2 separate regions of the Homo sapiens genome follow, and region 2 is linked to region 1. Evidence: promoter capture Hi-C in human tissues and cell types (Jung and others, 2019). All regions are on one chromosome and are shown on one strand. The core of a region is centred on a gene start or on the middle of the fragment in contact, and the rest is flanking DNA. Distances in the headings are between cores, read along the strand shown. Region 1 holds the start of DIRAS2 (DIRAS family GTPase 2). Region 2 has its middle 45 kb from the start of DIRAS2.

Region 1 (3,160 bases), core at 30-2,529:
AGACTGTGGAGGACAGGGTGACCACTCTGCTTTTAGACATCATTAGTGTAGGGGCAGGTTTGTTGAAGTAGCCTTAAATGACTTTAGTAAAAAGAGTGTATTTTTATTTTTATATTCCAATGGCTGTAGGATCAAGGCCAGAATTAGGATGAACTGGGGAATAAAATAAGTTTTCTTGACTATAAGTTGTAAAATGCGTAGTTTTTAAGTATGATTTTTAAAAAGCATATTTCCTGTGAATAGCAGGGCAGAATTTTACTATGGAAATGAACTTCAAAGGTTAACATGTTTTAATTATTTAGAAAGTGAAGACGGGATTAAAACAGATAAATAGGATTCTACAACAAAAATCAAATGTAAAGAACTACAGAATATTAATTTTGCTCAAGTCTTTTAGCATATTTGGTATTACAAAAGAATGAGTAATATAACCAAGAGAAGAAATCTTCCTTCAGTCTGTAGTTTAAACTTAACATGGATCAATGTTATGCTCAAGCACTTTTAAAAATGCCTGCACAGAATTGTTAGCCATTAATATTTTTTCTTGCTGATTCACCTGTTTTTTAATCAACGCGTCTTTGACAAAATTGTTTATCAATGTCAGGAAATAAACGTGGTCATTTGCTTGAAATGCTAATGTGAAACCACTCAGTGAAAAAGCAATTCTAATCCAAGCTTGCCAATGGCGGTGTTGTCATAGGATCCTATTAAATTAGAATATATTAATCTACACTGTGTGGTTGGCTATGGTATGGGGCAGGGCATTTCGTCTGCCTTTAAATGAGTCGGTTTTTAAAAGTTAAAATCTGGAAATGGAAAAAAAAAGTCTATATGGTTAGTAGCGATTATAGTTCGCAATGCGAACAAAAGAATCTGGTTCCCTTTCAATGGAATTATTTTAATTCATTAAATTATCAGAAAATTCCAGTCCTCGCCATCTATTCCAAGAGCATGCAGTAGGTGGCACCTAAAAGCTCTTTGGAGGCGAACAGGCGCCATTTAAGCAGGAGCAGCAGCCTCTGCAGCAGTTGGCACATCTGAGAAGGCAGAGATTGAAGAGAGTAGGAGGAGCGTGCAGCGGCGGTGACAGTGCCAGGCCGGAGCGGCTCAGGCCAGCGCAGGTGCAGGGGCTGCGAGCGGGTGGAGCGCGAGGGCGCTGGGCGCAGGGAGCACGGCCGGTGGGCGGTGCAGGGCGCACGGCGGGCGAGCAGCTGACAGCATCGTCACGGCGGCGGGAGGGAGTGCGCTGCGCCTGCCTCCGGGAGGAGCCGCATCCACACACCCTGCGCTGCCCTGTCCTGCGCGAGTGGAGCTCTGAAGAAGCTCTGAGCGGAGTTGTGTTCTTCCCCAGGTAACCGATTTCCCCCTTCTGCCGTGGCTTCGCTGCGTCCGCATTGGGGCACGGGCGGCTTTGGCATGATTGTTTGCCAGCCCCTGGAAAGGGATTACCGCTCTCAGGGAGGGCGAGTCAGCGTGTACTGGAGTTGGTAAGAGGGGAAGAAATCTGCATTTCTGTATCCTTGTTAGGGAGGGTGAGCATCATGCTGTCCTTGTCTAAAACATGTTCTTTTTTAAAAATCTGTATCTTACGTATTATTAGGGATTCCTTCCAAAACAGGATTTACCGTTTTGGAAAATTCTACTGTGCAGGTGTTTCTGTTAATGTGGAAGTTTAATGGATTTAGGAAAAGAGTAAGAAGATGTGGTCTAAAGTGAGAAAAAAGCCAAGCACGCTAGGGACTGCCGTTTGGTTCGGCATGCTTTCATCCTCGACTCCTTCACTTCATGCGCTTGGCCGAGACCTGTCTAAATCTTTTGTTTGTCTTCTTAAAGAATGTGTTTCATGATATCTACATGTGCTCCTTTCCGCTTCCTTGTTGTAAGAGCAGAAGATGGGCAAGGGGCTGCATCCAGTCCTTAGTTGTAAGACTGTGGTTTCCCATCAGATGACAATGACTGCTGACAGCTCCCAGGCTCGCCTGAAAAGCAGTGCTGGCTTCTGGCGTTGTGGGAACCTGCCTCTCTCCTTCTCTCTTGAAAAATGCTGTTTTTCCTCTTTAAAACTCCAATTCACATTCTATGTGGGTTTGGGAGACTTTTAAACTAGAAGCTCTGTGAATCATCTGTTACATCCATTGAATGCTGGAATACAACATTGTGGTGGAATTCAGTTTCTTCCTACTGTGCAGAGACACAGCTTGCCTTCCCTAGGAATTTATTTTACATATTTGCCCTCGTTATCTTTTAAATGGATCCCTTCAGATGTGAGAAGCTAGTCCAGCATATCAGAACTTTTCTGCTTCAAACTAAAAATTTTCAAAAATATTATTTTTGAGGAAGATTTTCCAGGTAACGCTAAAAGTCTGGAGCATTTTACATTTCAAATCAGTCACAATGTGCTCCATTTCCAGTGACATTTGGATTTGAGGAGGTGGAGGGGGAGGGAGAGAAAAGGGGAGGATAAAATTAGAATAAATTTAACAAATTTGTAGGGGAATCATACTTTTTTTTCTTCTTGGTTGTTGTCTGAAATTGAAAATTGTCCACAATTTTATCTATCTCTGGAAATGCAGGAGGCTTTGTGGGCTGGGGACAGGAAGACACATAGTTCATTTTATAGAAATAAAAGATACAGTGGCAAGGAAACATTTTCATCCCATTTAACATATGGCATTTAATTTGGTAATAGTCCCGGGCAAGCACAGGGAAAGGAAGGAGAAAGGAGGGGGTATTGCTGTCTATACCAAGGCACAGAACTGCTGCTCACACTTCAGTGATCCCTGCAGATGGGAAGTATGTGTTCATGGTTATTGTAGAAACCTCCAGAATCTTTCTTTGTTACAGCTTTAATAGAATTGTTCCTAAGAGGCGACTCAGAAAACATACAGATTGAATGCCAAGTTGTGGAAGTCACTTTTCAGCTTGTGTCTAACAACCCAGCATTCTCAGCAAAGCAGTTTCCTCATGAGAAGAGTGGAGGAGACCTTTTTTTTAAAAAAATTATTTATTGTATGTTGTTCGTATCCTATACACCACACATGACTTTTACTGTATTGGAAATGTATTATTTCAGTGGTAAATACTGCATATCTTACTGAAAAATTAAAACCTTTTAAAAAACAACTGGGGTGCTTTTGTCAAAAAGAGAGTGTATCTGTGA
Region 2 (2,817 bases), core at 310-2,809, 44 kb before region 1:
TCCTGGATATCCTTGGTAACTTTCTGTCTCGTTGATCGGTCTCATGTTGACAGTGGGGTGTTAAAGTCTCCCATTATTATTGTGTGGGAGTCTAAGTCTCTTTGTAGGTCTCTAAGGACTAGCTTTATGAATCTGGGTGCTCCTGTATTGGGTGCATATATATTTAGGATAGTTAGTTCTTCTTGTTGAATTGATCCCTTTACCATTATGTAATGGCCTTGTCTCTTTTGATCTTTGTTGGTTTAAAGTCTGTTTTATCTGAGACTAGGATTGCAACCCCTTCCTTTTTTTGTTTTCCGTTTGCTTGGTAGATCTTCCTCTGTCCCTTTATTTTGAGCCTATGTGTGTCTCTGCATGTAAGATGGGTTTCCTGAATACAGCACACAGATGGGTCTTGACTCTTTATCCAATTTGCTAGTCTGTGCCTTTTAATTGGAGCATTTAGCCCATTTACATTTAAGGTTAGTATTGTTATGTGTGAATTTGATCCTGTCATTATGATGTTAGCTGGTTATTTTGCTCGTTAATTGATGCAGCTTCTTCCTAGCCTTGATGGTCTTTACTATTTGGCATGTTTTTGCAGTGGCTTGTACCGATTTTTCCTTTCCATGTTTAGTGCTTCCTTCAGGAGCTCTTTTAGGGCAGGCCTGGTGGTGACAAAATCTCTCAGCATTTGCTTGTCTGTAAAGTATTTTATTTCTCCTTCACTTATGAAGCTTTGTTTGGCTGGATATGAAATTCTGGGTTGAAAACTCTTTTCTTTAAGAATGTTGAATATTGGCCCCCACTCTCTTCTGGCTTGTAGAGTTTCTGCTGAGACATCAGCTGTTAGTCTGATGGGCTTCCCTTTGTGGGTAACTTGACCTTTCTCTCTGGCTGCCCTTAACATTTTTTCCTTCATTTCAACTTTGGTGAATCTGACAATTATGTGTCTTGGAGTTGCTCTTCTCGAGGAGTATCTTTGTGGCGTTCTCTGTATTTCCTGAATTTGAATGTTGGCCTGCCTTGCTAGATTGGGGAAGTTCTCCTGGATAATATCCTGCAGAGTATTTTCCAACTTGGTTCCATTCTCCCCGTCACTTTCAGGTACACCAATTAGACATAGATTTGGTCTTTTCACAGAGTCCCATATTTCTTGGAGGCTTTGTTCATTTCTTTTTATTCTTTTTTCTCTAAACTTCTCTTCATGCTTCATTTCATTCATTTCATCTTCCATCGCTGATACCCTTTCTTCCAGTTGATTGCATCAGTTACTGAGGCTTGTGCATTCGTCACGTAGTTCTCGTGCAGTGGTTTTCAGCTCCATCAGGTCCTTTAAGGACTTCTCTGCATCGGTTATTCTAGTTATCCATTCATCTAATTTTTTTTCAAAGTTCTTAACTTCTTTGCCATTGGTTCGAACTTCCTCCTTTAGCTTGGAGTAATTTGATCTTCTGAAGCCTTCTTCTCTCAACTCATCAAAGTCATTCTCCATCCAGCTTTGTTCCGTTGCTGGTGAGGAGCTGCGTTCCTTTGGAGGAGGAGAGGTGCTCTGATTTTTAGAGTTTCTGGTTTTTCTGCTCTGTTTTTTCCCCATCTTTGTGGCTTTATCTACCTTTGGTCTTTGATGATGGTGACGTACAGATGGGTTTTTGGTATGGATGTCCTTTCTGTTTGTTAGTTTTCCTTCTAACAGTCAGGACCCTCAGCTGCAGGTCTGTTGGAATTTACTGGAGGTCCACTCCAGACCCTGTTTGCCTGAGTGTCAGCAGCGGTGGCTGCAGAACAGTGGATATTAGTGAACCACAAATGCTGCTGCTTGATCCTTCCTCTGGAAGTTTTGTGTCAGAGGAGTACCCAGCCATGTGAGGTGTCAGTCTACCCCTACTTGGGGGTGCCTCCCAGTTAGGCAACTTGGGGGTCAGGGGCCCACTTGAGGAGGCAGTCTGCCCATTCTCAGATCTCAAGCTGCGTGCTGGGAGAACCACTACTCTCTTCAAAGCTGTCAGACAGGGACATTTAAGTTTGCAGAGGTTATTTCTGTCTTTTGTTTGTCTGTGCCCTGCCCCCAGAGGTGGAGCCTACAGAGGCAGGCAGGCCTCCTTGAGCTGTGGTGGACTCCACCCAGTTCAAGCTTCCTGGCCACTCTGTTTAGCTACTGAAGCCTGGGCAATGGTGGGCGCCACTCCCCCAGCTTCGCTGCCACCTTGCAGTTTGACCTCAGACTGCTGTGCTAGCAATGAGTGAGGCTTTGTGGGCGTAGGACCCTCCGAGCCAGGTGCTGGATATAATCTCCTGGTGTGCCATTTGTGAAGCCCATTGGAAAAGCACAGTATTAGGGTGGGAGTGACCCTATTTTCCAGGTGCCATCTATCACCCCTTTCTTTGACTAGGAAAGGGAATTCCCTGACCCTTTGCACTTCCCAGGTAAGGCAATGCCTCGCCCTGCTTCGGCTCACGCACGGTGCGCTGTACCCACTGTCCTGTACCCACTGTCCGGCATTCCCCAGTGAGATGAACCCGGTACCTCAGTTGGAAATGCAGAAATCACCCATCTTCTGCATCACTCACACTGGGAGCTGTAGACTGGAGCTGTTCCTATTTGGACATCTTGGCTCCATCCCCACCAAATATATTTATTTTTAACTCAGGGAAAAAAACATTTTTCTTAAGCTTAAACATGATGTATACTGAAGCAGAATTTGATAACCTATTTGGATTCCCCCAGTGGTTTTAAATCTGAGATTGGTCTCCCCTCATTCTTAGTCAAAAGTGTCTATGATGTATAATATCTTTTTTTAATTGCATTTTCCTGGTTGCAAGAAGAAAAGGAGAAAC

The links. The method cuts DNA at HindIII sites, captures the fragments that hold promoters and counts their contacts. A contact is called where the count stands out against the background at its distance.
Region 2: a contact is called between a fragment that was not itself captured here and the fragment with the promoter of DIRAS2 in region 1, in 2 of the 25 tissues and cell types used here (mesenchymal stem cells and spleen).

What each region holds. Positions count from the first base shown.
Region 1 is chr9:90,640,943-90,644,102 of GRCh38, reverse strand. DIRAS2 (DIRAS family GTPase 2) reads left to right here and starts at 1,279. Exons shown (of 2, transcript NM_017594.5): 1 at 1,279-1,351. RefSeq lists a silencer at 1,291-1,340. The HindIII fragment of the contact is 18,185 bases long and covers 1-3,160 here.
Region 2 is chr9:90,686,060-90,688,876 of GRCh38, reverse strand. No RefSeq gene overlaps it. Among named protein-coding and RNA genes, the nearest start is that of DIRAS2, 45 kb to the right of the region's middle. The HindIII fragment of the contact is 3,580 bases long and covers 1-2,817 here.